Linked DNA regions of Homo sapiens: all the other regions are linked to region 1. Evidence: promoter capture Hi-C in 16 types of primary human blood cells and fetal thymus (Javierre and others, 2016). All regions are on one chromosome and are shown on one strand. Each heading gives the region's core, a stretch centred on a gene start or on the middle of the fragment in contact. The rest is flanking DNA. Distances are from core to core; before and after follow the strand shown.

What was found. The method cuts DNA at HindIII sites, captures the fragments that hold promoters and counts their contacts. A CHiCAGO score of 5 or more calls a contact.
Region 2: a fragment that was not itself captured here is called in contact with the fragment with the promoter of MTHFD2 in region 1 in 1 of 17 cell types (naive CD8 T cells); the score reaches 5.3 in naive CD8 T cells.
Region 3: a fragment that was not itself captured here is called in contact with the fragment with the promoter of MTHFD2 in region 1 in 7 of 17 cell types (activated CD4 T cells, naive CD4 T cells, total CD4 T cells and 4 more); the score reaches 7.9 in activated CD4 T cells.
Region 4: the fragment with the promoter of DGUOK-AS1 here is called in contact with the fragment with the promoter of MTHFD2 in region 1 in 14 of 17 cell types (fetal thymus, activated CD4 T cells, naive CD8 T cells and 11 more); the score reaches 14.4 in fetal thymus.
Region 5: a contact is called between a fragment that was not itself captured here and the fragment with the promoter of MTHFD2 in region 1, in 10 of 17 cell types (total CD4 T cells, naive CD8 T cells, total CD8 T cells and 7 more). The highest score is 9.5, in total CD4 T cells.
Region 6: a fragment that was not itself captured here is called in contact with the fragment with the promoter of MTHFD2 in region 1 in 2 of 17 cell types (naive CD4 T cells and total CD4 T cells); the score reaches 6.3 in naive CD4 T cells.
Region 7: a fragment that was not itself captured here is called in contact with the fragment with the promoter of MTHFD2 in region 1 in 1 of 17 cell types (activated CD4 T cells); the score reaches 7.8 in activated CD4 T cells.

Annotation. Positions count from the first base shown.
Region 1 is chr2:74,197,094-74,200,181 of GRCh38, forward strand. It overlaps MTHFD2 (methylenetetrahydrofolate dehydrogenase (NADP+ dependent) 2, methenyltetrahydrofolate cyclohydrolase), which reads left to right and starts at 1,522. Exons shown (of 8, transcript NM_006636.4): 1 at 1,522-1,649. The coding sequence starts at 1,549. RefSeq lists an enhancer at 1,184-1,742 and silencers at 1,451-1,590, 1,781-2,060, 2,191-2,280. The HindIII fragment of the contact is 3,357 bases long and covers 1-3,088 here.
Region 2 is chr2:74,432,783-74,435,870 of GRCh38, forward strand. All of the region lies in intron 1 of RTKN (rhotekin), which reads right to left. Among named protein-coding and RNA genes, the nearest start is that of RTKN, 7.6 kb to the right of the region's middle. The HindIII fragment of the contact is 2,783 bases long and covers 58-2,840 here.
Region 3 is chr2:74,411,049-74,414,136 of GRCh38, forward strand. No RefSeq gene overlaps it. Among named protein-coding and RNA genes, the nearest start is that of C2orf81, 9.0 kb to the right of the region's middle. The HindIII fragment of the contact is 6,860 bases long and covers 1-3,088 here.
Region 4 is chr2:73,979,927-73,983,014 of GRCh38, forward strand. It overlaps DGUOK-AS1 (DGUOK antisense RNA 1), which reads right to left and starts at 1,513. Exons shown (of 2, transcript NR_104030.1): 1 at 1,209-1,513. The HindIII fragment of the contact is 8,489 bases long and covers 1-3,088 here.
Region 5 is chr2:74,394,761-74,397,848 of GRCh38, forward strand. DCTN1-AS1 (DCTN1 antisense RNA 1) reads left to right here. Exons shown (of 3, transcript NR_158174.1): 3 at 294-3,088. Among named protein-coding and RNA genes, the nearest start is that of DCTN1-AS1, 11 kb to the left of the region's middle. The HindIII fragment of the contact is 1,762 bases long and covers 544-2,305 here.
Region 6 is chr2:74,369,204-74,372,291 of GRCh38, forward strand. It overlaps DCTN1 (dynactin subunit 1), which reads right to left. Exons shown (of 32, transcript NM_004082.5): 8 at 2,334-2,525; 9 at 1,776-1,973; 10 at 1,418-1,622; 11 at 1,263-1,341; 12 at 983-1,142; 13 at 762-866; 14 at 97-288; 15 at 1-11. Among named protein-coding and RNA genes, the nearest start is that of DCTN1, 9.6 kb to the right of the region's middle. The HindIII fragment of the contact is 6,181 bases long and covers 1-3,088 here.
Region 7 is chr2:74,036,565-74,039,652 of GRCh38, forward strand. The region is part of intron 3 of TET3 (tet methylcytosine dioxygenase 3); the gene reads left to right. Among named protein-coding and RNA genes, the nearest start is that of TET3, 53 kb to the left of the region's middle. The HindIII fragment of the contact is 6,428 bases long and covers 1-3,088 here.

The DNA.
Region 1 (3,088 bases), core at 272-2,771:
AATCTGTAACCGTTTTTAGGAGACTCATTGGTTTAGGAAAATCACCTTATTAAATTTACAGACTTGTTAAGAGCTACGAAGTGATGTGTCTCCTCAATGGATCCTATCAGAAGGCATATATGTGTGTTCCCTTACTGGGTGGTGCTAACTTTGATCACGTGGTTGAAGCAGTAACTGTCATGTTTCTTCACTGTAAATTTACCATTTTCCTTTCCTTCCTGGAGGCTAGAAGTAAAGGTCAAGGTGTTGACAGGATTGGTTTCCCCTGTTCTTTGTTTGTTTGTTTTGTTTTTTGAGACAGAGTCTTTTTGTTGCCCAGGCTGAAGTGCAGTGGCACAGTCTCGGCTCCCTGCAACCTCTGCCTCCCAGATTCAAGCGATTCTCATGCCTCAGTCTCCCCAGTAGCTGGGATTACAGCGTCCGCCACGATGCTCAGATAATTTTTTGTGTTTTTAGTAGAGACGGGGGTTTCAACACATTGGCCAGGCTGGTCTCGAACTCCTGGCCTCAGGTGATCCGTCCGCCTTGGCCTCCCAAAGAGCTGGGGATTACAGAAGTGAGCCACCGCGCCCTGCCCTCCTTAAGTTTCCTTGCGGGAGAGATACTTTGAGACTATGCAAAAAGTTTGCGGGAAAAAATACAGGAAGCCCAGTTGAATCTGAATTCCAGATAAGCCATAAATAAAGTATAAATATGACCTCCCAAAGTGTTTATCTAAAATTCTGATTTGATTGGGCATCTTGTGTTTTTATTTGCTAGATCTGGCAACCCTATATGTAAATATCTTGCTCCTCATCCAACTTTCACCCAGTTGTTTTGACATCTATTGCTGCTTCTGAATCAGGGTTGCACATGCAACCCTGACGTCTGTCTCTGAATATCTTTTATGATTTTACTTTTTTTGTTGTTGTTTTGAGATATGGTCTCACTCTCGTCGCCCAGGCTGGAGTGCAGTGGCGCGCCTTCAGCTCACTGCAGCCTCAACCTCCTGAACTCAGGTGATCCTTCCACCTCAGCCTCCCCAGTAGCTGGTACTGTAGTCACGCGCCACCATGTACTGATTTTGGAAAATGGTGATTTTCTAACTCCATCATTCCTTTTACTTCTGTTCGTTGGCATTCTATCAGCTTGTCTTTTCATCCACCCTTTACAGTGCTTGGCACACAGTAGGCGCTCATATAATTGTTCAACGAATGAATGAATGAACTTTTCTCTTGTGTTGTCCGGCCTTCGGTGACACTAGCGGCGTCAGGCAGGAGTTTGACTTCCTCAGCCTATCATGGCACGTTGCCGAGGCTTCAGCGCCTTACAGGACCTCGCTCCAGGCTCTTCTGGCTCCAATCAAAAGCAGGGCTCTTTCGGACTTCGCTTACGTTTAATAAAGAAAACCGGTTGGCCCCTTCGGCTCCACCTGGCTCAACAGACAGCCAGTGGCATGCGGCAGGGACCAATGGGTGGCGGAGGGAGGCGGGGCCTGCCACGAGGCCGCAGTATAACCGCGTGGCCCGCGCGCGCGCTTCCCTCCCGGCGCAGTCACCGGCGCGGTCTATGGCTGCGACTTCTCTAATGTCTGCTTTGGCTGCCCGGCTGCTGCAGCCCGCGCACAGCTGCTCCCTTCGCCTTCGCCCTTTCCACCTCGCGGCAGTTCGGTAAGAGGGTCACAGAGCTCGGTCAGCGCGGAAAGCTGAGGGGAACGGAGGGCGAGGGGCACGCCGGGCCCCCGAGGGACACCGAGGGAAGTCCTTCCCGAACATCTCCGCCCCGGCGGTGGTGGCCGCTGAGGGGTGTGGCGGGGCGACGTGGCACCGAGCGCCGCCGCAGCTCTCGACTGGGGCGCTTCCTCGGCGCGGAGGGCTGGTACCCGAAGCCCGCCTTTCGGAGGGAGCCGCTCTCCTGCGACTCGGGGCGTCGCCGGGGCCCGTGGCCAGTCGGCGGGCGGGACGGGGGTGGCGTGCGGAACGCGAAGGCATCAGTTTACGCGGAGCCTTCCGACAGCGCCGGCCGCCTCTGGCTGGGATGCTGAGAGTCGTCTGGGGGAGAACAGGCGAGGGTTCCAAAAGAGCAGCCCTCGGCGAGTTGTCCTTGCGGGGACCCTAGCGGCGGAGGGCGCTGCTGCAGCTGATGAAATCGCGGAGCCGACTTGCTCGGGGTCCCCGCGCCGCCCTCCTCCCTCCGCCGGTGGGAGTGGCCCGCGCTGCCTCCGCTCTGCCAGGAACATGAACGGACTCTGGGCACCCTAGCTTTGGCTGCAGCCCACCAGAGCCTGTCAGTGCCGGGCTGCGTACATAGAGGTGGCAAACATCCGGGAGGCTCCCAGGGCCTTAGGGAAAGGGGGAATGGAGAGTGACAAGTACCCATATTTCAGCGGTACTTGCAGAATTTCAGTTTTACAAGATGAAGAGTTCTGAAGATGGATGGTGGTGATGGTTGCACAACATATGAACGTATTTAATACCACTGAACTGCACTTAAAAATGGTTAAGATGGGCCGGGCGTGGTGACACGCGCCGAGGCTGAGGCACGAGAATCGCTTGAGCCCAGGAGTTCGAGGCTGCAGTGAGCCGTGATTGCACCACTGCCCTCCAGTCTGGGCGACAGAGCGAGACCCTGTCTCAAAAAAAAAAAAAAAAAAAAAAGTTGATAAGGTTTATGTTATGTGAATTTTACCACAATAACAAAATTGGGAAAAATATACAGGGGAGGAGGAAAGGAAAAGCTCTGTTTGCATTTTTGGGTTTCCTTGGGAAGGTGATTTGGTCGGTCATTAGAGCGCTGGCATTGTTGGCATTGTTAGAGCCCTGCACCTTACAACATCAGCCCCTTCTTTTTTTCATCTAACGTTCACTGTGTACCAGACACTATGCCAAGCTGTGCGAATTCAAAGATGAGAAAAACTGTTCTTAATGGAGCTCATGTTCCTGACAAGGGGCAGAACACGCGTGTAATTTCCAGTCAGTGCGGAAATGCTGTTAGAAATATTTCAAAGGCGCTGCTTGTTGGAGCAATGAGTTCTTGAAGGAAAACGTGGGAGGGGACTTTCAGGGTTTTCCCTGGTCTGACTCTTGACCTCCCCCATGTTTCGTTACTG
Region 2 (3,088 bases), core at 199-2,698, 240 kb after region 1:
GGCAGTTCAAGAGCAGGCATTGGGTCTCAATCTCAGCTGCCCACGAATAACCAGAGAAGCTTTGTAGCCAGGTGCAGTGGTGTGTGAGGGAGGCTGAGGTGGGAGGATCCCTTGAGCCTAGGAGATCAAGGCCAGCCTGGGCAACATAGTGAGACCCCACCTCTAAAAAAATATATAACAGCCGGGCACGGTGGCTCACGCCTGTAATCCCAGCACTTTGGGAGGCAGAGGCAGGCGGATCACAAGGCCAGGAGATCGAGACCATCCCGGCTAACACGGTGAAACCCCGTCTCTACTAAAAATACAAAAAATTAGCAGGGCGTGGTGGCGGGCGCCTGTAGTCCCAGCTACTTGGGAGGCTGAGGCAGGAGAATGGCATGAACCCGGGAGGCGGAGCTTGCAGTGAGCCGAGACTGCACCACTGCACCCCAGCCTGGACGACAGAGCAAGACTCTGGCTCAAAAAAAAAAAAAACATATATATATATATATAAAACAAATAAGAAAAATAGAGATGCCCTCATGCATTTGATGGTTGGAAGTATAAATTCCTTCAGCCTCTTTTGAGTGCAATTTGGAAAAAAATCTATGAAAACTACAAATTCATATATCCTTTAATTCAGCTATCCAATACCTAGCAGTTTATCTTACACATATAATTTCACATATATCTAGGTAAAGCCATACATACAAAAATATTCAGTGCGGCATTTTTTTTTTTTTTTGAGACGGAGTCTCGCTCTGTTGCCCAAGCTGGAGTGCAGTGGTACGATCTCAGTTCACTGCAAGCTCCACCTCCTGGGGTTCATGCCATTCTCCTGCCTCAGCCTCCCAAGTAGCTGGGACTACAGGCGCCCGCCACCACATCCGGCTAATTGTTTTTTTGTATTTTTAGTAGAGACGGGGTTTCACAGTGTTAACCGGGATGGTCTCGATCTCCTGACCTTGTGATCCGCCCACCTCGGCCTCCCAAAGTGCTGGGATTACAGGCGTGAGCCACCGCGCCCGGCCTCATTGTGGCATTGTTTTAAACACCAAAATTAAAACCCCTTCAGTAGGACATTGGTTAAATAAGTAACAGTACATCTGTACCCTGTAGTATTGCAGACATTAAGGAAAGAGATATGCACATGTATGCAGATATGAAACAATCTCCAAAATAAATGATGTGAGAAAAGAAGGGTAGTATTGCACATACTACCATTTGTGCATGATATATATATATGTATGCATGCATATATATACATAGATATAGATATGCATGTTTATGCATAAAATATTAGTGATTGTAGGCCTGGGAGCCAGGGATGGAAAACATTTATGATACTTTTTTTTTTTTGAGACCGAGTCTCACTCTGTCACCCAAGCTGGAGTACAGTGGCGCGATCTCAGCTCACTGCAACTTCCACCTTCCAGGTTCAAGTGATTCTTGTGCCTCAGCCTCCTGAGTAGCTGAGATTACAGGCATGTGCCACCACGCCCGAGTAAGTTTTGTATTCTTTTTTTTTTTTTTTTTTGAGACCGAGTCTTACTCTGTTGCCCAGGCTGGAGTGAAGTGGCATGATCTCGGCTCACTGCAAACTCCGCCTCCCAGGTTCAAGCAATTCTTCTGCCTAGCCTCCGGAGTAGCTGGGATTACAGGTGTGAGCCACCACACCCAGCTAATTTTTGTATTTTTAGTAGAGACGGGGTTGCACCATGTTGGCCAGGCTGGTCTCAAACTCCCGACCTCAGGTGATCCACCCGCCTTGGCCTCCCAAAGTGCTGGGATTGCAGGTGTGAGACACCATGCCTGGCCTAACTTTTGTATTCTTAGTAGAGACAGGGTTTCGCCATGTTGGCCAGACTAGTCTCGAACTCCTGGCCTCAAGTGATCCTCCCACCTCGGCCTCCCAAAGTGCGGGATTACAGGCTTGAGCCACTGCGCCCAGCCTAATGATACTTTATATATACCCTTTGTACTACTGGAAATTGTATTTCCTTTAAAAAATATTAGATCTTTGGAGTTTAAAAAAAAATGATCAGGCCCTACCTAAGATTTGCAGAATAAGAATCTCTAGGAGTGGGGCATATGTACTTTTGGAAAACTCCCCAAGTGATTCTGAGGTACACCCAGGTTGAGAACCACCAACTCATGGGAATGGACAGAAGGAAAGGCAAATGAGAGTTATCCCTCAGACTCAAGTGATGCCAGGGACATCTAGTTGGCAAGGGATCAGTGGACAAGGAGCATACCACCTACAGTGTTCACTGACGCTGCACAGAAACCTATACACCCCAAATTAAGAGAATCACCACCTACCGGCCCTCTGAGCTTGGGAGATGAGGTCAGAGGCAAGGAATGGGGATGGGAAGGTAGGTGGTCCAGGAATGAGGGACTGTGGATAAGGGCCAGCTGAGAGGCCCTGGAAGAGACACCAGGATTCTCAGGAACATTCATTTAGAAAGGAGCCCTGGAGGTCCTGCTTCTTAAAAAGCAATGGGCAATTTGCTCAACCTCCCTAAGCCTCAGTTTCCCCATCTGTAAATCAGGAATGGAAATAGTCCTAGGGCTGTGAGAATTCTGTGAGGCAGGAACTTAAAGCACTTAGCACAGTGCCCAGCATGTGGTATACATTAATGGCAGGGATGCTTATTTTAATGACGCTATACTTTGGTGGTAGCAGCATTTACTCAGTCAACACTGGAGCATCCCTGTACTGTCCAAGGTTGTACATTTAAAATCCAGCTGGGAGGTGAGAGATGATGACTTTAATGGCTGCTCCATAAGTGCCATGTCATGGCACAACCATGCTCACAAGAAACAGCCTCTGTTTGCTTCTGGCTGAGGTGATCAAGGAAAGCTTCAGAGAGGAGTTGGAAGACTAACTCTATCACAGTGTACAGATTGGTTCAGGAGACAAGTCGAGCCATCCATTTGAAACAGGGGAACTAATGTGACCACTCCAAACCTGTCTTTTTCCTCACACCAGCTCTCCTCCATACACTGTGCCCTTGCATCTGTCCCTAGTGGCTCCAGCCTTCAAGTCTCTCAGACCCGAACACCCTAAATTCCCTCTTCTAAAAAGCCTTGTCCTGCCTGCCTACAG
Region 3 (3,088 bases), core at 589-3,088, 210 kb after region 1:
CAGCAGAGGTGATATCTGTGCTGCGTCTTGGCAGGTGAACTAAAGTTAGCCAGGCCAACATGATGAGAAAGGATATTCCAGATAGAAGGAACCGTATGTGCAAAAACACAGCCAGAGGGTGAAAAAAAACAGACCGTGGTCCAAGAGCTGCAGATTGTCTGGCTGGAGACTAGGAGGTGGGTTAAGGAAGGGCAAAAGGCAAGGCTCTTAGTCAGCAGAGGGTTTTTTTTTTTTTTTTGAGACAGAGTTTCACTCTTGTTGCCCAGGCTGGAGTGCAATGGCGCGGTCTTGGCTCACTGAAACCTCCACCTCTCGGGTTCAAGCAATTCTCCTGCCTCAGCCTCCCGAGTAGCTAGGATTACAGGCATGCACCACCACGCCCAGCTAATTTTGTATTTTTAGTAGAGACGGGGTTTCTCCATGTTGATCAGGCCGGTCTCAAACTCCCAACCTCAGGTGATTTGCCCACCTCAGCCTCTCAAAGTGCTGGGATTACAGGCATGAGCTACTGCACCCAGCCTAGCACACAGCCTTCTAAGTGTAGAGAAGGGGCTTAGAGTTCATCCTACAAAGGAGAGGTTACCTTCAAAGGATTTTAAGCAAGAAAGTGTCATGATGAAAGGTGATTACTCGATGTGGCAGTGGGGAGAATAGATTAGAGAAGATGAGACAGGAAAGAAGTTTAAGAAACTGTCACTAAGCAAGATGCAGATAGTGTCGTGACATGTTACAATTTGTGGAAAGGGACAAAAACAATCATACTTGCAGGTGCATAGAGTTTTGCCTTTGTTCACTTTCCAATTGGGATTAATTTAGTTGACTGCTAAAGGATACGTGAGACTCCGGCAACAGTAGTTGCCTCTCAGGAGGGGAACAGGTGGCTTATGTACCAGAAGAGAAAAATAGTTTAAAAAAAAAAACCCTCTGTATCCTTTTGTACACTTTCAATTTTGTACTTTGGATATGTATTACCTGACCAAAAGAAAAATTGCTTTTCTTTTAAGGAGGCTATCACATTGCAAGGGGATGAGTAATTAAAAAATAATAATAATAATAAAGGGGCTATTATACAATCTAGGAGAAAATGTCAGAGAGAATGTTCCTGCCACCCACTCCCCGAAACTTTCCCTGGAGGAGCCAAACTTTCTCAATCAGAAAGGGCCTCTTCAAAGGACTTAGGCCCAAGGCAGTAATGTATCAACTGTATCATCTGTATGGCCTACACCTCTGGCCGACCCTGAGAACAGAAACTGAGTCTTCTTGCTTTCTCTGTTTCTGGTGCCTAGTGTCCCCCTCAAGAAGCCTTCATTGCAAAAACTACTCTACTGGTCTGGCTAGAACTAGGGGATGGGAGAAGGAGGTCTGGGATCTCATATCCCCTTGCTGATTATATTTTGGGCTGAATGATTCTTCTATCAGCCTTCTAATACTGACTTGTGCCAGCTGGGCTTCCCTGATGTGTGACACAAAAAGTGTGTTGGGTCACCACTCAGCAAACAGCTGGGTGCCAAGAGGCAAGAGGTGGTCCTGGGAGACAGTTACTAGAATGCCAGGGGTATAGGGAAGAGGGCAGCACAGAAGGTGCCCATCCTTCCTTACCTTGGAGTAGATTTGTGAGCAGAAAGGGCCCAACATAGTTAGTGACAAAGGTGAGATCCAGGCCCCCTGGGGTAAGTGTCTTCGGAATCCTGGGAGGAAATGAAAACACTGGCATTGAGTGATAAAGGGACCACCTTGAGGGAGACAAGGTCTGGGAGGGACATATTACCTTCAGCAGAAATGCCACAGGGGCACATACATGTGAAGATGGGGGCAATGAAGTTTAAGGCTATAACTCAATGTCAGCTTTTTAGGGGAGGGTATGGATTAGTGTTTTGGCAAGATTGCATAGACTAGGCTTTGAGGATACCTGTTTTAGAGTTCCTGAGCTAGAAAGGAGACTGCAGAAACATGTTTGGAGAAGCAAGCCAGGCACATACCACTGACTCCAGCATTGTTTACCAGCAGATGTATCTCAGGATTCTCCTGTAGAAGCCTCCGGGCAAAGCTCCGAATAGAGGTCATGGAGCTAAGGTCCACCTCGCCAAGCAGGAGGCGGTTGCTGTTTGAGGCTGCTTGGATCTCAGCCAGGGCTTGCTGTCCACATTCCCTGCTCTGACAAGTAAGGATCACTTGGGCCCCACACCGAGCTAGGTCCTGGGATACAACCTTCCCGATGCCTGTGGGAGGACAACTTCGGCTGGGTGGTGACTACAGTGAACAAGGGACACTCTAGGGGAGGGACAAGGGTGTTGATAGTGGATGCTCCTCCCTGCCTTCCCTGTGAGAGTTGTTGGAGGCTGAGGCCCATAGTGAGGATTCAGGGTGGGAGGAGCACTCACCACTGTTGGCCCCAGTCACTATGGCTATTTTCCCAGTCAGATCTGTGGAGCAGCACTGGAGGTCCCAGGGATGAGACTTCTGCCAGAGCTGCACATGTAGTTGAAGAAGACCAGAATAAGGAAGACAGAGCCAGCGCCCCAGACCAGGATGCTGAGTGCAGCCCACAGCAACATAGCAGAAACTTCCTGGGCCTGCTGGGGAAATGCTGTAGGAGGAAGTGGGTGCAGGATAAATCTGGGCAGAGTGGAGACTAGCAATGAGGCAGGTGTGGAGCCTAAGATAAAATTTAAGGAGGCACTGACTCTTGAGTTTGTTCAATATACTGTTTGAGTTTGAGAGTTCCTCCTTAACTTCAAAAGTGAAATTTGGATTTGCAGTCTAAGGTGAAGTGACCAAGCTCCAGGGACCAGGGAAGCAAGAAATCAAGTTCTTCATATCTCGAATCACTCTGTGCTTATGCGGGGCCTTCTCCTTCCTCCCCTACTGAAAGGAGACTCGAAGTTCTCTCTACAGAGCCAGACCCGCTGGCAGCCCTTATGTCTACTCCTTTGGGGGACAGGGGTTTCTCTAGAATGCCTCTGCAATGGGGCAGCTTTGGCCCTAATGCAGGGTCTCCTAAGGGTGGCGAGAGGGTTATTTCCTGAACCCTGGTTCTATCTTCTTCTAGGCCTGCAGGATAACTGCTCCCCTTGGGGTTCAGTGAGAG
Region 4 (3,088 bases), core at 263-2,762, 220 kb before region 1:
AATGGACACGTTTTGTGATTGAGAAATACACTTTTGTTATGTAAAGCCACTGTGATTTGGGGATTGTCTATTACTCCAGCACAATCTAACTGATCCTGACTGATACACCCTGTCAACCAAGGCTCAGGGGCACCAAGGCCTTTATCCCTGTTGGGTATTCCTTCCATTATGATGGGTACCCTTGCATTCTCCTTGCAAGTAATGAAGCCTATTTGATTCAAAAAATTCAAAATGCAGTCACAAAACTAGTTATAAAACATGAGGACATTTGCGGGGCTATTGAAAAACGTAGTAGCCGGGCGCGGTGGCTCACTCATGTAATCCCAGCAGTTTGGGAGGTCGAGGTGGGTGGATCATGAGGTCAGGAGTTCAAGACCAGTCTCTACTAAAACTACAAAAATTAGCTGGGCGCGGTGGCAGGTGCCTGTAATCCCAGCTACTCGAGAGTCTGAGGCAGGAGAATCATTTGAACCTGGGCAGCAGAGGTTACAGTGAGCCCAGATCGCGCCACTGCACTTCAGCCTGGGTGACAAGAGTGAGACTCCATCTCAAAGAAAAAAAAAAAACCAAAACCCAAAACCAAAACAAAACAAAAAACCCAAAAACGCATAGCATAGATATCCTACACGTGTCACACTCACCAATGCAGGTCCACAAGCAACCCACTAATGAACCTCCCTTTCCCTGAGAGCAAAATGCCAGCTTCTGCCTGGTATCAGCTCTAGCATTCGTGGGCTAATTTCAGAGGTCCTGGATTGTAGGTCCTGGATTCTGACATGTAGTAGTGAATGACCTTGGACAAATTACCTCACTGAGCGCCAGTTCTCTTATCTGTAAAATGGTGATGATAATAAAAACTATGTCATAGATAAGGAAAGTTAACATTTGCACATTTGTTGTATTTGCCACTCTGTGCAGACAGAAGGATAATGTGTGTGGAAGTGCTTTGAAAAGGGAAAGATCTATGCAAATATTAGTTGATAATATTTTTAGCCAATACATGACCAAAGAAGTAATACATCCAAAATCAAATAAACCTCCCAATACCTTCAGTCTTTAAAACCAAGCCCAGGTATGGATATCGGGATGTATTTACATTTCTGCAAAAGGTCCCCATACGCAAATCTCATTCTTAAATAAGGACAAATTACTCATTAGCTGAAGAGGAGAGAGGTCAAGTACCTGAGGAGGTTAGTCACATCAATCACCTGAGAGTTCAGCAGCATCCAACAGTGTTAGTTCCACGTGTTAACTTCCTGAAGAACCACAGGCTTGCACATCCAATTATGCTTCCTGTCCCTTTCCTCCCCCGTGCGGAATCAACTTCAGCTCATCAATGGGGTAGGAAAGCCTCCTTATTTCGCACCCTCCATGCTCCAGGCATCCAGGGAAATGCCCCTGCCACCCCTATCTCCCTTGAGTTCTTAGGGCTTCCTCCTCTAGCAAGGAGATTTCCCTTTCTAGTCCCGGGGGCAGCGGCACAGCCCGGCTCTGACCTCGCGGGAGCAGTCGCCTAAAAGAGGCTCCGCCCTTGGCCGCTTGGGGTGGCGCCCGCCAAACCCGCTCCTAAAAGGAGCCTCTCTCCCTCTGTCTGCTCTAAGCGCCTTGGGGGCCTAATCGCAGTCTCCACCTGGGTGCTGAACTTCCTTCTCCCCCGCTTGCTGTAGTCCAGTGCTGCTCTAACTTGACTTCACCTGACGGACTAATTAAAACAGATTGCTGGGCCCGCCCCCAGGGTTTCTGATTCAGTGGGGTTAGGATGGGGCCGAGAGCTTGCATTTCTAGCCAGTTCCCAGGAGATGGTGATGCTGCTGGTGCCGGGGCTCTCTTGGCGGAACCACTGCGTCTAGGCTAATGCAGCCCCAGGAAGGGCTCGCCCTATCCCTACGCCCACCCCCGCTGCTCTCCTGCCCTGAGCGCAATGTGAATGGGAATAGCCGCAGCAGCCCAGGAGGCTGGAGAACCAGAAGGCAGGACCTGAGGAGTTTAGGCTGTTTTATCTTGGGCGCCCCTGACCAGTTTGTGCAAGTCGTAAAGAAAGCAGGAAAGAAGCCTATGGGTCTTCAGTGTTACTGGGGTCTGTCATTCATTAGGGTCTACTCACCTCGTCTCTTCATTCAACACAGTGGTTGGTTGCTAGGTCTAGGGTTATGAGGTGAAAGACAGCGTGCTACCCTTCCAGGAGTTTGTAGTAACTGGGAAAGAAACATGCAAACCATTCCAGTGCCCAGCGCCGATGAGATAACTGTTCCTAGGCAGGGAGAGTCAAACTTCTGTGGAGGGAGAGTGGGTGGGGCTCTGGAATCATCTGAGCAGCTGGAGGTTTCATGGAACTGGCACTTATGACTTGCAGGATGAGTGGGAATTTGGCAGGTACAAGGGGTAGCTGAGAAGGGGTGGGGTGGGAAGGGTTTTTCCCCAGGCAGAAGGAATGAGCAACAGGACTGCCGAAGTGTAAGGTTCCAGAGGCCGGGAAGATATGACAGGCAGCTCTCTAGCCTGGCTGGGTTCCCTCCAACCTCTCTGGCGGCGCCTTCTCAGCTCCTGTCCCTCATGGGCTGGTATTCCCTGGGGCTCTGTCCTGGCAGCCTTTCCCTCTCACACTCCATATCCACCCTGGATGAGCTCCTCCACAACTGAGGCCTCGCTGTCTGCTCACTGATGGGGCCCAAATCTCAAACCCAGGCCTCACCCCCTCAGTTGCACACTCACTTTCACACGAATGTCTCCATCCCCAGGCATCCTTCCTTCTGCATTTTGTCACAGTGAATGGCACCAGCATTCACCCAGTTACCTAAACGAGAGGGCTTTATGAAATGACCCTCTCATAGATTGCTGGCAAAGAGTAAATGACACAGTAACTTGCTGGTGCCATTTACCCAGACAGAATACAAGAGGATGGCTGCTGGGCTCCTCTGAAAGTCCACAACTTACTAGCTGAGTGATCCTGGGCAAGTTATTTAATCTGTTTTCTTATCCATAAAATGGGTTTGATGATAGTACCTACCTCACAAGGTTGTCATATGGATTAAACAATATTAGTTGTTGTCATTCATTGAGCCCTATATTAAGTCTTTTACTTGGATTC
Region 5 (3,088 bases), core at 175-2,674, 200 kb after region 1:
GAGCAGAGATCATGCCATTGCACTCCAACCTGGGTGACAGAGTGAGACTGTCAAAAAACAAAAAAAAACCTGTGTGTTGAGTTTTTTATATAAAGCTGCCAGGCCTCAGGTGGGATGGGGGTGGTGATTCAGGAAAGACCAAAATGTTTCTCAGCATCATGAAAGGGATCCTACTGAATCATAAGGACAGGACGTGCTAATAGGAGAAATATTGATTTTTTTTTACATTTGATTAGGCTGAGTGGTCTTCAAGGAAAATTAATATTGTCTTTGTCCTGTGTTTTTCTTCATAGGTGCTGTTGTAAGAGATCCAGGCTGCCTTTGGCTTCCTCCAATGGGGAACCTGAACAAGGACCCCCAAACTCCTGTTCACATAACTAGAGCCCTTCCCCCCAACATGTGATGCTGAACAGAGAAGAACATCTGTGCTTACCTGGGTGAAATCCTAGGCATTATAGAATGTGGGGAAGAATCCATGGGAGAATCCTCCCCCTGAGGAAAGGGATGCTGTTTTCCAGGAGAAGGTGGGTTTTCAGACTGAAAAGCTTGGAGAGGGGAATCAATAGAGAGTAAATCAAAGATGACAAAGCCATGGGGGAGGACATGTGTGGGAGAGAGAAGCATCTAGATTAGCTATACCAGCACTGCCCAATAGACATAAATGTAAATTTTAAAATTGTTTTTAGTTGGGAAATAGGTTAACAAATTTTAAAGAAAATTTCTGGAGAAAACTTAATTTTTTAAAGACAGGATCTTGCTCTGCCACCCAAGCTAGAGTGCAGTGGCGCTATCATGGCTCACTGCAGCCTCAACCTCCCTGGCTCAAGTGATCCTCCTACATCAGCCTCCAGAATAGCTGAGAGACCAAAGGCCACCGTTTCTGGCTATTTTTAAAAATTTTTTGGAAAGACAGAGTCTCACTATGTTGTCCAGACTGATCTTGAACTCTTGGGCTCAGATGATCCTCCTGCCTTGGCTTTCCAAAGTGCTGAGATTACATGTGCGAGCCAAGATAAAATTTTATATAAGCCAGCCACACATATAATTTTAAATTTTTTAGTAGCGACAGTTTGTAAAAGTTAGAAAAAAAAAAGGTGAAATTAATTTCTTTTTCTTTGAGACAGGGTCTTGTTCTGTTGCCCAGGCTGGGATACAATAGCATGATCTCAGCTCACTGCAACCTCCACCTCCCAGGCTCAAACGATCCTCCCACCTCAGCTTCCTAAGTAGCTGGGACTGCAGGCATATGCCACCATGCCTGGCTAATTTTTATATTTTTTGTAGAAATGGGTTTTTGCCATGTTGCCCAGCCTGGTGAAATTAATTTTAACAACATACTTTATTTAAACCAGAATATTCAAAATATTGTCATTTCAACATGTAATCAATACAAAAATGAGGCATTTTACATTCTCTTTTTTTGCACTGTCTTTAGAATGCGATCTGTATTTTGCACATTTATAGTACATCTCTATTCAGATGCTAAGTTTTCATGGGACATCCTTGATCTGGTTTAGACTACATAAAATTTACAATTGAAAAAGTAGATTTATTTATTTATTTACTCATTCATTCATTCATTCATTCATGTCAGAGATAAGGTCCTTCTATGTTGGACAGGCTGGCCTTGCATTCCTGGCCTCAAATGATCCTCTTGCCTCGGCCTCTCAAAGCTGAGATTACAGGCCTGAGCCACCAGGCTCAGCCTGGAAAAGTAGATTCAGGTATGCAACTTATTTCAAACATTTTAACATATTTTCCAATAACTGAACTGAATACTTAAATGTATACATTTTTAAACATAAAATTAATTAAAAATAAATAAAAATTAAAATTCCATTTCTCAGTTACATTAGCCACATTTCAAGTGCTTAATGGCCACATGTGGCCAAGGGCTACCATATTGGTCAGTACAGAGATAGCGCTTCACTCCTTCTTCTCCCTGCTTTGTTACACTTTTATGAGAGGGTCTGGCCCTTCAGGAAAGGACCACATGTGTGTTCATTGCCTGGTTTGTTATAACATACAGGTAGAGTATGAGGAGACAAGGTGGCTTAGGGAGAGCCTGACCTACTGTACCCCTTTTCCTTCTGAGGTGGGGTAGGGAACAGCATGAGGGTGGTCCCCTGGGGGTTCCTTGAAAACTGTGTGATAAGAAGAATCCACAATGTAGGATAACCCAGAACGACCATAAAAAGTACAATGGCGACCAAGGACCATGCAATTTTAAAAAGTAAAAGAATTTTCAAAAGTAAAAAGAAGTGAATCACTGTAGAAATCATAAAGAAAATAATCTACAGATGAAAGCTTTTTGTTAAAACAAATACAGATCCTTGAAAAGAATGTAAGATCTCATTAGATTCTCTAAAATCAGGAATACGAAGATGCCGAATATCTCTGAGTCTGATCAACACTGTATTTGAACTAGTGCATCAAGGCAAGAAAAACGTATATAAAAGACATAAAGATTAGAAAGAAGGAAATTAAACTGTCATTTTTCACAGATGATATGATGACTTACATGGAAAAGGCCAAAATAGGCCGGGTGCAGTGGCTCACGCCTGTAATCCCAGCACTTTGGGAGGCCAAGGTGGGTGGATCACTTGAGGTCAGCAGTTCGAGACCAGTCTGGCCAACATGGTGAAACCCCATCACGACTAAAAATACAAAAATTAGCTGGGCATGCTAGCACGTACCTGTAATCCCAGTTACTTGGGAGGCTGAGGCAGGAGAATTGCTTGAACCTGGGAGGGAGGCAGAGGTTGCAGTAAGCCGAGATTGCACCACTGCACTCCAGCCTGGGCGAAGAAGCAAAACTCCATCTCAAAAAAAAAAAAAAAGCCAAAATAATCTGTAAATTATTAGGATTGATTAGAAAATATTTAGCAACGTGACTAGATATAAAATCAACATGCAAAACTCAATTGCATTTCTCTAACCAACAATGAAAAGTTAAATTATATAATTTTTGAAATGAAACTGATGCACCTAGTAATAAACAACAAAATATGTGCACAACCCGGCCAGGCTCAGTGGCTCATACCTGTAATCCCAGCACTTTGGGAGTCCGAGGCAGGCGGATCACAAG
Region 6 (3,088 bases), core at 289-2,788, 170 kb after region 1:
CGATTCACATCCTAGGAGGAGAGACAGTGAAGCACAGCTGGGTCATAAGGAAGCCCTGGGGTGATGGTGGGCAGAGAGCAAACAGTGGGCATGTACCTGTAGATGGGCGGTCAGCTGGCGGTACTTCTTGATGGTCTGCTGGTAGTCTGCAACCGTCTCCTGGGCTGCCTCCACACGCTTCTGGGCCTCACGAACCCGCGCGCCTGCCATGTCCAGCTGCTCCCGCAGCTCCAGTTCTGTCTCACGTGCATTCTCCTGCAGCTCATCGTTCATCTCATTCATCGCTTCCTAGGACACCACACCATAGTTTGGGCTAAAGAAAGGCAGGGTCGGCCAGCGGCGGTGGTTCACACCTGTAATCCCAGCACTTTGGGAGGTCAAAGCAGGCGGATCATGAGGTCGAGATCGAGATCATGCTGGCCAACATGGTGAAACCCCATCTCTACTAAAAATACAAAAATTAGCTGGGTATGGTGGCGCATGCCTGTAGTACCAGCTACTCGGGAGGCTGAGGCAGGAGAATCGCTTGAACCTGGGAGGCGGAGGTTGCAGTGAGCCGAGATTATTGCGCCACTGCGCTCCAGCCTGGCAACAGAGCGAGATTCCATCTCAGAAAAAAAAAAAAAAAAAAAAGGCAGGGTCAGGGTAGCAAGCCCAGGCTGGGTCCCTCACCGCACACCCTGCTCAAAGGCCAAGGGTCACATGTCAATCTTTTTCTCAGCAGGTCCAAGTCAGATGTCAGGGGTCTGCTCTTCTCTTACCAAGTCTCCCACAGTCTCCCTCAACTCGCGCACTTTCTCTTCCAGATTCAGGTTCCGATCTGTCAGCATCTCCACCATCTCCTCAGCACCCAGAGCAGCATCCACCTGTGTTACGGGGAGGATAGGGAGAAGGGCTGCTGGAAGGTACCTAGAAAGAGGAGGCATCAACTGATAGGAGAGTCAGGTGGGGGATTCTGGGTGAGGGGCTGGGCTCCCCAGACCTGCTCCTTGAGCTCATCAATGGTGCTCTCTGCCTGGCTTAGCTCCTCCTGCAGACGCTCCCGCTGTTGCCTCACAACTTCCAGCTCTTGGTTCTTCTTTTCCATGAGCTTCTGGAGCTTCACATGCTCCTGCTTCTCTGAGGAAGAAAGATCCCGCATCCTGCAGGGATGTGAGGAAGGCAGAAGGAGGAAAGCACGTGTCAGAGTCTCTGGCGATGGGTGCTCTAACACATTTGGAGACACAAGAGTAAGCATCAGAGGCAAGCACTGAAGACCCTACCTCACCAGGGCATCCTTCAGGCGGGCATTCTGCTCCTCAAGCTGCTTGAGCTGATAACTGGATGCAGCGCCATCTGAGCCTGGAGAAGATCATTAACACTTTCAGGCATGGTTCTCACCTGACCGTTTGGCCCCCAGCAGCTGTGGGCCCCTTACCCTTCTCTTCAATCTCAGCCTTGAGGATCTCTAAGTCAGTAGTGAGCTCGTCCACCCGCTCCTTCAGTGCCTCCACCTCCTGCTGCAGGGACTCAGCCCGCTCTTCAGCCATCTCCTTGTCCAAAGTGGCCATCTCAATGGCATCAGCAGTATCAGCCATCTCCTCCATATAGCGTTCCTTTGCCTCCAGCGCCTCCTTGGCTTCCTGAGGAAGAAGTGGAGGTGGGAGGGGGTACCAGCACAGAGATGCCCCAGGCCTTTCTCACAGTATGTTCCAGGCTCCAGCTCCAGTCTAGTTTCCAGCATGCTTCCTTAGGTCTCAGGCTGCCCCAGCCACCCCCTTCATCCAGAGTCAAACCTTTCTCGCCTCCTTGAGGCGCCGCTGCAGGTCGGCCTGCTGCTCCTGCATTTTGCTCTTCCATTCCTGCACCTGCTCCAGCTGGATTTTGTGTTTCTCCAGCTCTTTTAGCTTTGCTTTGTCTTCTGCCCGTTTCAGTCTCAGGGTCTCTAGTTTCTCCTCCAGGTCCCGCACCTGAGCCCTTAGTCCCTCCTCCTCCTGCAAAGGAGAGGCCTCACGGTCTGTGCACAGCCCACTCCTCCTCTCCACCAACACTGAGCTGGCGCAAAGAACACAAGAAAGTGTGCAAACATCACCCAGCCCCAGGGTGGCCAACAGTCAGTGGCATAAGAACATCTGAGAGGAAACCGTAGCACAGTATATATGGGGAAAGTATGGCATAAGGGCAAGAAAGGAAAGGATGGCTCAGTCAGTAGCAAGATATCCATAGGCTATGTCCTCACCCTTTCTGATCCAAGTTCTAGGTCTTTGCCAACCCCAGGAAATTTTCAAGACACAGCGGGTAGCCACAAGCCTCTGGGTGTCTTGATTCTCCTTTACCCCTACCCCAGGCCTTACCTTGGATGGGGAAGGAAGCGGGGGGACTGCTCCAGGAGAGGTGAGGACCGGCGTGGGGATGATGGGTGCTGCCAGCGGAGTCTGAGCCGGGGTGCTGGGCTCACTGCTGCTCAGCTCACCTGCTGACGCTGAGCCAGAGGGGCCCAGGGAGCTACTGGCCCCAGCCACCCCAGTACTGGCTGGGCGCGTGGGCTATTCAGAAAGGGTAGAGGCAGACCAGAAAGAAAGCAGAGGATAGGGGTAGTAAGAGGAACAGAAACAGAATATGAGAATATGGCAAGGGAAGGAGACAGAAAAGGGAAAAAGCAGAAAGAGAGTATCAAAGCACAGTGAGAAAAGAAGAATGAAGGGGACAAGGAAAATGATACAGAGAGGCAGAGAGAGATAGTGACAAAGGACAGGGGGAGGATGGAGGCAGAGGAGAGAGGGAGGAAAAGATAAGAGAAAGACATAAGATTATAAGGCTCCTCGCTTGGCACTGACTCCACATTCCTCCTAGCTCTGGCACTACCCTTAAGAGCAGAATCCGTTATTCCCTAGAACCCCCATCTATGACCCACTTGTGATCATTCTAGCAACTCCATTATACTCTCAGTCCCATCCTTGCTCCAGGTCTATGCCCTCCACCCCTAGACGGAAAAAGTACAATCTAATTTCCACAGAAGGTTGGGCCAAAAGTGGGGGTGCCAGGCTCTCTACCCCTGCTAAGCCCTCTTTGGGAGTCAAGCTGAATCTCCCTCTCTCAGTCTATTTCA
Region 7 (3,088 bases), core at 175-2,674, 160 kb before region 1:
AATGGCTGTGCTCTTCCACATTGCCTTGTGATCTTGAGGCAATTACTTGCCCTCTCTGTGTTTAGTGTCCTTATCTCTGATCTCCACCTTGGAGGAGCCTGTGGTGATTAAATGAGATAAGTGAATGTGCGACAATTTGCATGATACTCTGCCTGTCATAAGAGGGTTCCATCAGAGTCACGTAGAGACTTTTCCTGGTTCCTTCTTTTCCTTTCTTCCTCGAACCCACATTAGTTACTGTTAGGTCAGAGGACATGAACAAAGTCCTGTGCTTCTGCCAGATATGATGACCTCAGGGAATTAGGCCCATTTCAGCTTTTTTCTAAGTATCACCCCAGCCACTGACAGATTTGCTGTATCTGCCCATTTTGTAGTAGGAAAAAAAATTAGATTTTAAAATGTTTTACTGGTATGCATGTAGTAACCACAAGAACAACTGCCTCCCCCTCCCCCCATATAAGAATACCCTCTGCCAACGTATAATGCTCTCAAGAAGTTAGACATAATCCTGGAGTTGCTGTCTGCAGAGGTGGCCAGTTTGGGTATGGAGGGTGCAGACATGGGACTGGGCTAGCCAGTGTGCCCATGGGCACACACTCACTTCTGCAAGAACAGGCAGATGTGCACCTCCTCTGCAAGGGTTCCCCTAAAACTCTCTTTCTGCACTCGCTTATTAGTTTTATCAATAAATCTTCCGAAGGGAGAATCCTCTTAAGAAATGAATAATTGATCAACCCTAGACAGAACATGCCATAAATACAACCCATTTGCTATTAGAGAGAGTGGGGCCATCCATTTGGTGGCAAGGAAGAAGGAATTAGCTTTGTAAGGAGGTGGATTCTGAACTCTAGGACTGAGATAAAGGATGAGGCTGGAAAGAGCAGCCCCTTGAACAGCTGCTGTGGATCAGAGTAGCTGAGCTGGTGGTATGTGTGGTTGGGAAAGTACTGGGTGGAGTTTACTGGCTTAGCAGGGTGGGGTGTTGCCACCACTATCTTGGAGTCCCATGAGAATTCGCTTCAGGAGATTCCTTTGCAGAGAATGGGCTACTGGGCTCTGAAGGTTGACTACAGGCTAGTTCATTCTGGCCAAAAACACCTTCTTGGACATGGTTCTTCTAATATGGTGTGTAACTGCTGACAGTCAGCAAAACAGCCCTCCAGACTCTGTTCCTCTTGTAACTTCCCCTTTCTTAAAGGCCTTAAGAAGGTATAGCCAATCAGGACTTTGCTCTTTCAAGATAACATTCTTGTCTTCTCTCTTCCCTATTTTCCTTTAATAGAGAATTGCTGATCTGGTTTTGATGTGTTGAGAGTAAGGAAGGATTTGGGAAACCTGGTGTCATATCTGTATCCTTCACTGTGTTGTTGACTGAACGAGGTGTTTGGGGAGTGGCGTTCCACACTTTTCCAGCCTTGCCTGGCATCTGGGGGGCTCTGGAGTCCCCTGGGTGGGGAGAGCAGGGTGCTGCTGTTGAATGCCTGCAGATGTCTGGAGGACCAGCTCTGGGGATTTGGGAGTCTAAGAAGACAGTGCACTGTAGAGGAGGAGGCAGGGGACCTTGTGAGCTAGCCAGGCGGGGTGCAGGGTCACCTTCAGCACAGGGTCCCCAGCTCTCTGAAGGTGGGAAATGTGACTGGGGTTGGCGATGCTGTATGCACATATGAACTCTTCATGGAGTGTAGTGAAGAGTTATGTCTCTTCTTGGATCTGAGAAGGGCATTTTCTCTGCCTGAGTAATGTTTCCTGCCTCTCAGTCTCCTAGTAACAAATTCCTGCTGCCCCTAGGTGATGGGAACACACCTCCAACTTGGGGAAGACCTAGCCTGGGATGGGCATACCCCCTTTCAGTGATATTGTGAAGCAGGGAAGAAACCTGATGGGGTTGGGTGTGAGGACCCAGCGAGGGCAGGGAAAAGGGGTTTGCACCTGGAAGTTGGCAGTAAGATGTGCAGCACTAGCACCTTGGGCTTCTCTGGAGGCCCCTGTAGCCTTTGCAGACCTCTACCATGTGTGCATTGTAATGGGTGCCATAATAGCAGAGAGATCACCAACTCTGCCTAGAGCTTCCATGGGTCATCTCAAAGTATAGGGGTGATGAGGCTTGCACCAGCCAGGTCCCTAGGGAGGAAGCAGTGACAGAGCTTTTTGAATGCATTCTAGAGACTCCGGTAGGTTTTGAAGGTGTGGCAGATGCCTGGTTCCCTAGGAGCAAATGGTGTAGTTGACCATACACTCTTACGAAAAGATCCCTAACAGAACGTGGCTGTGCACGGTAACTGTAGGCTCTGGGGCAGCCTGTGGTGGAAAGGACTGGTCAAGGAGGACTTTCTCAGGGAGGGATTGATTCTGTTCCTTGTCTCACTGCTAAATTTAATCACTTAACCTCCATAACCACGTTTCATCCCCATCTGTCTGCTAGTGCCTTAGTTCAGGTCCTTATTGTTACTAATCTGGACAGTTGCATAGTCTCCTAACTGGTCTTTGGGTCACCAGCCTCGAACCCTGCAGTCTGTCTTCTGCAAGATGCCTGAATGCCCCTCCTGAGATGTAAATCTGCTCTCTGTAGCATTCAGGCTGTGGTCCACACACCTGCCTCCCCTGCCTTTGCGATCAAGATACACTCAACAGCTTATGCATCTCCAAGCCTGCCAGGGCTTATGATTCTGTGCCTTTTCACATGCTATTCCTTCCATCTGGAACTCCTGCAGAATTCTTCCCCTTCTTCCAAAATACCTGCTACTTTCTCCAGCCTCTCTGAGATTTCTTTGAGATAAAACCTTCCTGGACACCCACCTGCCCACCTGCCCAGATAGCTGTATATACTGAGCCACCACAGGCCCCTGTAGATACTGCTTTCACAGCACTGATATGATTTAGGGCATTGACTTATATATAGGCCTTTTTCTTCCTTTTCATCTTAAAACTTTTTGGGGTCCTGAAATACATAGTCTGGTCTATTGTCAGGCAACAAATCACCCCAAAACACAGTAGTATAAAACAGTAATCATTTTGTTATGCCCAGGGATTCTGTGGATTGGGAAGTCAGAAGTGACAACAGCATGGGTAGCTTCTATATGTTCCTTAA